Linked DNA regions of Homo sapiens: regions 2 and 3 are each linked to region 1. Evidence: promoter capture Hi-C in 16 types of primary human blood cells and fetal thymus (Javierre and others, 2016). All regions are on one chromosome and are shown on one strand. The core of a region is centred on a gene start or on the middle of the fragment in contact, and the rest is flanking DNA. Distances in the headings are between cores, read along the strand shown.

Region 1 (3,585 bases), core at 458-2,957:
TGCCCTCCTTGGCCTCCCAAAGTGCTGGGATTACAGGCGTGAGCCACCGCGCTCGGTTCTGCTCATCTTTTAAAACCCAGTTCAATTCATCTCCTCCAAGAAGCTTCATCGACTCCCCCAGGATTCACTCGCCCCATGATCTGACTGCACTTTGTACATACCTCCACTAGAGCATTTATCACTCTGTATTGTAATTATGTCTGTGTCCAGCTCCCTCACTAGATTGTGAGGTCCATGAGGGAGGGCGGTGTCTTATTCATCTCTGTATCCCCTGTGCCTAGCGAATACAGATGCAGAAAGGCCATCTCCAGATCAAGAGGAAATTAACCCAAGATTGGTTATATGGGATTAGATCTCTGGAAGAGAAGCGCCCATCACCTGCAGTGGGCCCCCAGATGACTGGATCTTGTGTTCAGGCATTTCAGAGACAGGAACATAGAAATCTGACACAGCCGCAGCCAGGTAAAACATCGCAGAAGGGCCTGCAAAGAGAAACACAAGGTGTTAACAAATCGGCGAGGTACGATATAGGATCAGCTCCTTCTCAACTCGGGTTCCCCAGCTGAGATCCGTGGGTAAGCAGGAGGTAAGGGGATAAGTGGCTGGAAAGAAAGGCTGTGCTTCCAGGCAAAAGGGGTACTCCTAGGGCACGCACCTAGCGGATTGAGTGCCTGGGCCGCAGCCTGCAACAGATGCAAATAGTCCGCCAAAGTGGTGAACTCTACTGCCAGGAAGGTGCCTGCAGCCGCAGCCTCCTGGTAGCTCCTCAGAGCCTCAGCAAAACCCGGAAGTGCATTCTCCTCGGCCTCCAGGCTCAGCAAGCCCGAAAGGGCTGGGCCCGAAGGCCGCAGAGCGGACAGCCAAGTCTGGGGTGGGAAGCGGTGGGCATAGGGGAAGGCAGAGCGAGCGCGATACAAGAACAGGACCCCGTAGCCGGCGGCTAGGAAGGCCTCGGCCGAGGTTGCACCGCGCCGCCCGCTGCTGAAGTTGTCCAGGAAGCGCACCGGCCGCGCTTCCAGTGGGACCTTGGTGCCGCCTGACGTAACCAACACCACCCGCCGGCCCTGCGCGCCCAGCCTGGCCGCGAAGCGAGCCATAACCTCAGCCCAGCGCGCAGCACCGGGAGGCTGGGGGAACTCGGCTACCGGATCCATTTCCGCCATCTGCAGCGCAGCGGCCGGCGCCTGCGCACGTTTCGCGGCCGCCGCGCCACGCCCCTTCTCGCCTACCTGGTGTACGCGCCGCGCCGTACTGAGTGGGCGGTTCACTACCCTTCTTTTGACACTAGGTCCCGATCTCGCCAAGTCTGGAAATGCGTAGTTGTTCTGCCCCAGAGCCCAGCGAAAGTGACACTGCAACGAGGGGGATCCCCGGCTGGGTGGGCATCTGGTAGGGTCACGTTCCCTCACGTTCGTTTCCTAGCCTGGGTGAAGAACTGGCCATGTTTGACCCTTACCGGCCACTGTACGGGCCTTTCTGGACTTGGACTCCTTGGGAGTCGTTTCTCGGCCATTTGACCCGTGGGACTTGTGGGTTTTGTGCTGCTTTTTCTTTCTTTCTTCCCCTTTTCCAACTTCAGCAATACACCCAGATGTTAGTCGAGTCACGTCCCGCCGCCCTCTGCCCTTGAAATGCTGGCAAGTACGCAGCCCCGCGATCGTCACGTGACGCCGGGGTTCAGCGTATCCTTGCTGGGCAACCGTCTTAGAGACCAGCACTGCTGGCTGCACCATGAATGTGATCTACCCACTGGCAGTCCCCAAGGGGCGCAGACTCTGCTGTGAGGTGTGCGAAGCCCCAGCCGAGCGGGTGTGCGCGGCCTGCACAGTCACTTATTACTGGTAGGCCCTGAAACGTGGCACCTGGGCGCTATAACTCCCTCCCTCTCTCCCTTTCCCGGGTCTGGCTTGGGTACCTTGCGTTAGCCGTTGCCCCTGACTCTGCAAGGGACACCTCAAAACGGCTTTAAGACAGGCCCCTAAGACTCCCGTGGCCTCGTCTGTCTCATCTCCCACTTATTCGTCACTCATGTTTTCTGAAGGCGTACTCTGTGTTATGCACTATTTTAGGTGCTAAAGTTACTGGGGCAGCTCGGTAGATCAGTTCCTTCAAAGATCTAACATTCCAATGTGGGAGACAAATCAGTAAAGAAACAGGCCGGGCGCGGTGGCTCACGCCTGTAATCCCAGCACTTCGGGAGGCCGAGGCGGGCGGATCGCCTGAGGTCAGGAGTTCGAGACCAGCCTGGCCAACATGGTGAAACCCTGTCTCTACTAAAAAATACAAAAATTAGGCGGGAGTGGTGCTGGGCGCCTGTAATCCCAGCTACTCGGGAGGCTGAAGCAGAAGAATCGCTTGAACCCGGGAGGCGGAGCTCGCAGTGAGCGGAGATCGCGCCACTGCACTCCAGCTTGGGCAACGAGAGTGAGACGATAGTGAATGGGGCAGTATGTGGAAAGCTTTCCCTGTGGAAGAAACATTTGAGCTGCATTTTGAGAGGGCAGTCAGAACCTGCTGTGTACAGGAGTAGTGAAGAAGGGTAGGGCATTCCCGGCATCCGGGACTGCTAGGGCAAATGGCAAAAGAACAGAGTTTGCTAAGGGCCGAGTGGAGAACGTAGTAGTGGAGGGAGCAGTCAGTGATTTTCAAACTGCAGGCCAGGGCCCTTTAGCAGTTTATGAATAAGTCACAATCACCATTTAGAGAAAACAACAACAACAAAAAAGAGCACAGAATGAGTAGAAAGTATCAGGTTAATCCTACCTGAATTGTTTCTTAAAACTTTTGTCTTAGTGTTTTATGTGGACATGTGTGTGTGTACAGGAAAAATGTATTTCTTACTATAGGTTGAGTCAAAATTAGCCGGATGTGGTGGCGTGCACCTGTAATCCTAGCTACTCGGGAGGCTGAAGCAGGAGAATCGTTTGAACCCGGGAGGCGGAGGTTGCAGTGAGCCGAGATCGCTCCATTGCACTCCAGCTTGGGCAACAAGAGTGAAACTGTGTCTCAAAAAAAAAAAAAAAAGTTGGAACATCATTGTGATAGGTAGTAGAAGTTTAAACCAAGAAGATAAAGGTTAGGGCTAGACAGTGACATGAGATCAAGGGTTTGGAATTTATCTCCTGGGAAACCATGAATGGTTTTGAGCTGACATGCTCTCATTTGTGTTAAGGAAAGAGGATGGGCTGCAGTGTGGCAGATACAGAGGAAGGTAGACACTGACGGCTGCATAACAGATCAAGAAGCTGTTGCAGTACCTTCTCATACTGGCCTAGGTGTCCTTCCTCAGTGCTCTCAAAGCACTGAGTATGTCCCCTATCCTAACACTTAGGACATGGACTGAAATCATTTATTTATTTCTTTCATTAGGCTGTATGCCCCACAAGGGCAGGGATGGTATCTGTGTTTTCATTGCTATCTCCTCTTTGGTGGCTTCCTTGCCTTTAGAATATAATTAAGAATTTGTAACAGAAAATACAAGGCCCTGGTTATTTCTCTACCTTCACTTCCCACCACACTCACCCCATTTTTTCTTTGCTGTAGTTATAGAGAACTGAAGTTCTAATTTGCTAAGCCCTTTCTTCC
Region 2 (3,585 bases), core at 551-3,050, 360 kb before region 1:
TTGTTTCAAAAAAGTTGCTTTTCATAAATATATGTTTTGTTGTTATATAATTTATTATTTTTATTTTTAAAAGTAGTAATTATATTTAATTTTTCTTAGTTTTCTTTTTTTTTTTTTTTAGAGCTAGGGTCTAGCTCTGTTGCCCAGGCTGGAGTGCAAAGGCACAATCATAGCTCACTGCAGCCTTGAACTCCTAGGCTCAAGTGATCCTCTTGCCTCAGTCTCCCTAGTAGCTAGGACTACAGGTGCATGCCACCAAGCCCAGCTATTTTTAAAAATTTTTTTGTAGAGATGGGGTCTTACTACGTTGCCCAGGCTGGTCTCAAACTCCTGGCCTAAAGTGATCCTCGCACCTTGGCCTCCCAAAATGCTGGATTACAGGCATGAACCACCACACCCAGTCAGTTTTAATTTTTAATATGGAAAATTTCAAAAAATATAACTCATATAAACTGAAGCTCCCTGAGGTCCTCAATAATTTTTAAATGTAAAGCGTTTCTCAGAATATATACCTAGAAGTAGTATTGCCAGGTTATAGATGATACTAAATTGTTTTCCAAAGTAATTGTACCAATTTATAACTTGTCATAATTAATATTTTTACTGCTTTCTCCAGAAGCATTTTATCAGATAGTCTAAATCACATCATAAAATGAGTTTCTTATCTGAAATGTTCTTTTTAGACTTCTAACTCTATGAGTGAGAAAAACAGATACAGACATAGATAAAGATATCACTCATAATCGTAATCTCAGAATCCAGTAATAATCACTGTAATTTTTTTGGTCTATATGCTTCCTGACTTAAAAAGAGGGAGCTCTAGATTTCCAGTTAAATAAACATGTCTCATTGAACACAAATGCTTATCTCTGTTACCTCCCAAAATGATCTAAAATGACAATCTTGGAGTGCAAAAGGAAAAGCCTATAAGGACAAAGAGAACAGGACAGTAAGTAACTGTGCAATAGAGATGTCAATACATTTCTTTAATGAAGGAAAGCAGAGGGCTCACTAGTAATAGAGCTAGGAAAAACTGAACTCTAACCCAGGTGCCTGCAGAGGGAGGCAGGATTGGGGGAAACATCAGATAAAGGGTTCCTGACATCAACCCTTGACATCAGCAAGAAGAAAGCTGATTCTCAACTGAGAACCTTCCAGGCTTGGGATGGGAGGGACCAGGGCCTGGCTCTACCTCCCGGGGTTGTTGTAAGGATTAAATTAGCTAAAACATGCAAAATACTTAAAATAGGGGCTGATACTCAATGGTAGCTGTTATTGTCTGAGGATAAGCTCCAACTTGAAAGCCAGAGACCAAAATAAACAACAGAGACAATCTAGGAAGCAGAAGAAAACAGCAGAAAATTACAACTGGAATCCTCAGAAATATGAAATAAGAGAAGATCCTGAATCCACAACATAAGAGCAAGAGGCTACCAAAAAGGAAAGTCGGGGATCAAACAAAAACTCTTGGAAATTAACATTTTTGTAGCAGAAATGAAAAAATTCAATAGAAGAACCAGGGGATACAGCTCAGGAAAATCTCTTGTAAATTAGAATAAACAAAACCAGGAAATGGAACATGAAGAAAAATTTAAAAACAGGGAAACTGGCTGGGTGCAGCAGCTCATGCCTGTAATCTGAGTACTTTGGGAGGCTGAGGCAGGAGGATCACTTGAAGCCAGGAGTTCAAGACTAGCCTGGCCAACATAGGGAGACCCTGTCTCTATTTGTTAAAAAAAAAAAAAAAAAAAGAGAAACTGATCACAGAGAACGTTTCCCAGAATTGAAGACTTTGTTTCCCAATTGAAAGGGGCCACCGAGTGCTTAGCATAATGAATGAAAAATACTTAAAGGACAGTTTGTTATGAACGTTCAGAACATCAAGGATAAAGGAGAAAAATATCCTAAACAAATTAACAAATTAACAAACAAAATATATGGGAAGTAACACAAGTCAGAATAAATCAGTCTCCTCAAGAGTAGCCACATGAGAAGCTAGATGACAATGAATCAATGCCGTTAAACTTCTGAGGGAAAATAATTTCCAATGTGGAAATCTGTCACTCAAGGATGAAAGAAAATAAAGCCATTTTTAGACAAGCAAGGACTCAAAAATTTAGCTTCCATGAACCCCTTCTGGGGAGTTAGTGGAGAACATACTCCTCCAAAATGAGAGAATAAACCAAGAATGGAAAAACATAAGATCCAGAGAGCAGGGGATTTGGCACAGGAGAAACAAGAAGAGAATCCCCAGAATGTGGTTAGGTCCCTAATCCTAGGACAAGAGCTGTGAAGCAAGGCTAAGCAGAGGAGTTTGGAGCAAAGAGAGGATGAGTCTAAGGAGGGATGCTGCCAAGAAAAAAAAAAAAGACACTGGTAAATGACCTGGTTCACATCTGTAGTACCAGCCACTGAGGGGCTGAAGCGGGAGGATCACTTGAGCCCACCTCTGAAAATAAAAAATAAACAAGGGATGCATAGATCATTAAGCAAATAAAAATAGATAATTTTTTGACTCTAGAAAAAATATTATTCAATAAAGTGAATATAATCTTAGTGTAGTATATACCTCAACTGTAAAAATATTCTAGTTATATTACTATAAACTCTTGCTAGTCATTCAACAAACCAGGAAATTCTGCAGCCTGGCCAAGAGTCCACTGGTAGACACAAAAGAGACAGACAAAGCATAAACTCATGGAAAGAATAGAGAGGGGACTTTGACAGTGTTCAGCCTCAACATTCACTCCCTCCTGGCTCCAACCTTCACCTTCCCAATAAAGAATGTAGAATCCCAAACTGGTATCTCCAGTTCCGTTCTTTTCTGAAATCTTCTAATTGCTCACTGGACAATTCTTCTTGCCTATTGCCACTTGAAGCGTAATCTAGCTCTTTCTCTCTCTCGGTCCCTCTCTTGCGCGCGCGCACACACACACACACACACACACACACACACACACACGCTCCTAACTTATCCTCTTCCTCACCGTTTCCCAAACCAACTCATCACACCTTCTCCACTTTCAACAGTGGCTCAGTGGCACCACTACTTTTCCAGTCTTCCATGTGGCTTTTCCACTCCTCCATTCCCTATAGCTGGTTTGTTTTTAGCTGGCTTCTAAAGGTCCTGCCGTGTCTTCAGCTGTAATCTAGTTCATAGCTTATATGAACGTTATAAACCATACCATGTGACACAAATGTAAAATACCAGTACTACATCAAGATTTCTGAAATAGACTCTGACTTGGTTACTTTTATTAATAATAATCGAATCAGCATTTGTATAGGGTTTTTAAAAAGACATTTAATGTACTTTCCTCTGATTGCTAAAGTATAAACGTTTACTGTAGAAATTTTGGAAAAGCTGGGCGCAATTGCTCACATCTGTAATCCCAGCACTCTGGGAGACTGAGGCAGGAGGATCACTTGAGCCCAGGATTTCCAGATCACCCTGGGAAACACAGTGAGACTCCATCTCTACAAAAAAATTTTAAAAAATTAGCCAGGCATGATGGTGTGTGCCTGTAGTCCCAGATACTTTGGAGGCTGAGGTGGGAGGATTGCTTGAGCCCAGGTTACAGTGAG
Region 3 (3,585 bases), core at 574-3,073, 290 kb after region 1:
TATCTCAGTGCATATACACACATGAGCATACACACACACATACCTCAGTGCACATACACACACCCCAGCAGACACCCCAGCAGACACACATCCCAGCAAACACACACACCTCGGTGTACACACACGCGCCTGTGTATATACACACTGACACACACACACCTCGATGTATATATGCACACCTCCTTGCACAGACACAGATACCTTGGTGTACACGGACACACATATACCCCTCAGCATACACACACATACACCTCAGCATATATACACATACACTCCTCAGTGTACACACATGCCTCAGCACACACACACCTTCAGCACAAGCACACATACAAACACACCTTGGCTACACACACCCATCAGGGTATATACAGACACCTTGGCATACACAGACATACACATCTCCGCAGACACACCCCCCCTTAACACACACACACACACACACACACACACACTCACCAGAAAGGGGTGGGAAATCCAGTGCAGCTGTGAGGACTGCCCTGGGAGCTGGGCCAGGAGCTACCTGCCCCTCCCTGAGGGCCTTGTCCCTGCAGTTCCCTCCTGGTCAGGCCCTGCTCTCTCCAATTCCCTCTTCAGTGTTGACTCTCCCCACCCAGGAATTCCTGCCCAACCTCCCGCCCTAGGGCTGTCCTGGCATCGGGCCAGGTTGGCTGAGTAGAAAGATGACAATCCCAGGGCTACCCTTTCTCCTGTGTCCTGGGGATTCCTGCTCACAACAGCACACAGTGAATGCACGCTGCCCTGAGGGCGCAGTCTGAATGGGGTCAGAGTCTATAGGGGCGCGGGCACACCCAAGCAATTCCCCAGTGAGATCCGCGGAAAGGGGACTGTATCTGCAGGGGCAAGGGGGGCGGGCGGATTGGGGAGGAGCTCATTCGAGGACACCCTGAGGCTGCAGGGCAGGCAGGACAGGATGGGGACCAGCACAGGATGGGGACAGCCTGTGACTCAGACAGGCAGGAGGTCACCAGAGGGGCCAGGGAGGACCAGGAGCTGCTGTGGCTGCTAATAATATGGGAATGGACCTCTGCTGAGCACCTTCTGTGTGCCAGGCATTGAGCTAAATGTTTTTAAAACCTCACTTGATTCTCCAAACAGTAATGCCTACCACACACCTACCCCATGAGGTAGGTATTATTTTTGGTTCCCACAGGGGACACAAGGGACAACGAGACTCAGAGAGGGGAAAGCATTGGCCCAAGTTCACACGCCTCACAACTGGGCAGTAGGTGGAACGGAACCCAGGCTGTGCGGAGGGCTTCCTTGAGGTCGCGGCAATCAAACCCAGACCCTGACTTGCCCTGCAGCCTCCCCCGTGGAATTTCTCACATTTCCCTGAATATTCCAGGCCCGTCTCACCTCCTGGCTGTCCCTTTGGCATGAAATGGCCTTCTGTCCTCAGTCCCTTCTCTGGGAAAACTTCCACCCATTCTCCAGAGCTCAGCCCCCAGTGCAGCCCCGTCACCTCATCCTAGGATCACCCCACCCTAATCGCCCTGCGTTTCACTGTCGGGCTGGGCCCCCCTCCTCAAGGGCAGGGTCTGCCGGCCCCACACAGCAGCACAGGGCAGTCGTGAGTGAATGTGCCTTGTTGGTGAATGAATGCAGGACCCAGCCCGGCTGTGGGTCAAAGTAGGTGCTCAGGGAGGGGCCGGGGCCCCCCCTGCCTGGCTCTTATCTCCTAGGGCTGTCTCGAGCCTTATCTGATAAGGCCTGACAGGTGAGCAGATGAGACTGACAGAGGCTTCCAGGTTACTCAGTAACCTGCCCTCTTTAAAAGTCCCGCCGCTTCCCCCTGGCATCCAGAACAGCCACCCCTCTCTCGGGCACTGCTGCCATGAATGCCTTCCTGCTCTCCGCACTGTGCCTCCTTGGGGCCTGGGCCGCCTTGGCAGGAGGGGTCACCGTGCAGGTGAGTCCTGTGTCCCTACCCCGGCCCAGCTGGCTCCCTGCCCCTAGTGCCCAGGTCTGGTCCCCTGAGAGAGTACCTCCTCTTTGGGGCTGGATTGAGGGTGTGTGTCCCAGGCTTGGCCTTCTTCGAGGAGCTCCTGCTCAGTCCAGCCACACACACACCTTTCCCTTCAACTTTGGAGGAGAAAGAAACCCAGTGGAGGGAAGAGGAATAACCATATGGGGAAGGCGGGGAGTTGGCCAATTTACTGAGTGTCCTATGTGCCGGCTCCTTCCCCAGCCCCTCACTGTGGCTCCACTATCAACCTGGAAGAAAGGGATCATTAGTCCCATTTTACAGAGGGGAAAACTGAGCCTCACAAAGGTTCTGTAACAGGCCATGGGCACATGGCTGTGGGAAGTGCAGGAGCTGGATTTAAATCCAGACCTTACTCCTCAGTGGGTCCCAGGAACCACATGGACACCCTGGAGGTCCTGACAGATGGGTATGCCTACCAGTGCCAATGCTGGCGACAGGCCAAGCTGGCACCTAGCGGGGGCCCTGATCTCTATCAAAGCCAGATTCCGGGAGGCCTTTTATTGCTTCTCAAACCAAAACCAGGCTGCAGGCTGGAGCTGGGGGCCCAGTAATCAGCCGCACCGCTCTCAGGCAGGGGAAAGACAGCCTGGGCTTGGCCACGTGGAACTACGATGCCTGGGTGCTGGTCCTTTGCCTCTCCCTAAAAATCAGCACACTGGCTCCTACTCATTAGGCACCTATGGTGTTCCTGGAGCTTCACACCCATTTTCTCCATTCCCCATACAACATGCAGAATTTGCGGGTTCCAGAGTGTCCAGCATCACGGAGCCAAGCCAGGACGTGGGGCCTGAACTCTGCCCCTCACAGTGCCCCACTGTGGATCGCCTGGCTCCCATATGCCACGAACACTGCCTGTGAGCACCACTGGGCTGGACCGGGGCCAGCACGGGGGGCACAGCCAGGAAGCAGGCTGCAGCCTGGCCTCATGCTCTGGGCTTCTCTCTTCCAGGATGGAAATTTCTCCTTTTCTCTGGAGTCAGTGAAGAAGCTCAAAGACCTCCAGGAGCCCCAGGAGCCCAGGGTTGGGAAACTCAGGAACTTTGCACCCATCCCTGGTGAACCTGTGGTTCCCATCCTCTGTAGCAACCCGAACTTTCCAGAAGAACTCAAGCCTCTCTGCAAGGAGCCCAATGCCCAGGAGATACTTCAGAGGCTGGGTGAGCAGCCTCCTTCCTCTCTGATTGGTGGGGTTCGGGAATACTGTGGTGGCACTTGAGGAAGAGATGTGCTCTGATTGGTGGGATTTGGAGGAAGGGCTCAGCTCTGACTGGTGGAACTAGGGAGCTTGGCTCTGATTGGTGGGTCTGTTCCATGCCCACTTCAATTCCAAGTTGTAACTGCTGAGGTTTGGGAACTAAGACCATTCATCTGGTCTTAGTTTCCTCTCTTTCTGGTGGAATCTCTGCTTTGATTGGTTGGTTTGAGTGGTCTGTGTGCCCTGGTTTGGGGCGAAAAGCCCAGTAGGTCAGAGTACGGGCCTGCTGAGATTCTCCTGGGGCTGGGTGGTGACGTACAAGCTCTGGGCCAAGGGCGGCAGGGGCCTCGCGAGGAAATGCTGGTTCTCACGAGGCTCCATC

The links. The method cuts DNA at HindIII sites, captures the fragments that hold promoters and counts their contacts. A CHiCAGO score of 5 or more calls a contact.
Region 2: a fragment that was not itself captured here is called in contact with the fragment with the promoter of ZMYND12 in region 1 in 1 of 17 cell types (monocytes); the score reaches 6.2 in monocytes.
Region 3: a contact is called between the fragment with the promoter of GUCA2A here and the fragment with the promoter of ZMYND12 in region 1, in 1 of 17 cell types (endothelial precursors). The highest score is 11.3, in endothelial precursors.

What each region holds. Positions count from the first base shown.
Region 1 is chr1:42,454,144-42,457,728 of GRCh38, reverse strand. ZMYND12 (zinc finger MYND-type containing 12) reads left to right here and starts at 1,707. Exons shown (of 8, transcript NM_032257.5): 1 at 1,707-1,841. The coding sequence starts at 1,732. It overlaps PPCS (phosphopantothenoylcysteine synthetase), which reads right to left and starts at 1,186. Exons shown (of 3, transcript NM_024664.4): 1 at 656-1,186; 2 at 379-482. The coding sequence starts at 1,163. It also overlaps a transcript of CCDC30 not described here. RefSeq lists enhancers at 836-955, 1,046-1,115, 1,356-1,585. The HindIII fragment of the contact is 2,356 bases long and covers 106-2,461 here.
Region 2 is chr1:42,818,548-42,822,132 of GRCh38, reverse strand. All of the region lies in intron 1 of ERMAP (erythroblast membrane associated protein (Scianna blood group)), which reads right to left. Among named protein-coding and RNA genes, the nearest start is that of SVBP, 2.9 kb to the right of the region's middle. The HindIII fragment of the contact is 5,658 bases long and covers 1-3,585 here.
Region 3 is chr1:42,162,983-42,166,567 of GRCh38, reverse strand. GUCA2A (guanylate cyclase activator 2A) reads left to right here and starts at 1,823. Exons shown (of 3, transcript NM_033553.3): 1 at 1,823-1,930; 2 at 2,958-3,165. The coding sequence starts at 1,856. RefSeq lists an enhancer at 999-1,963. The HindIII fragment of the contact is 7,781 bases long and covers 1-3,585 here.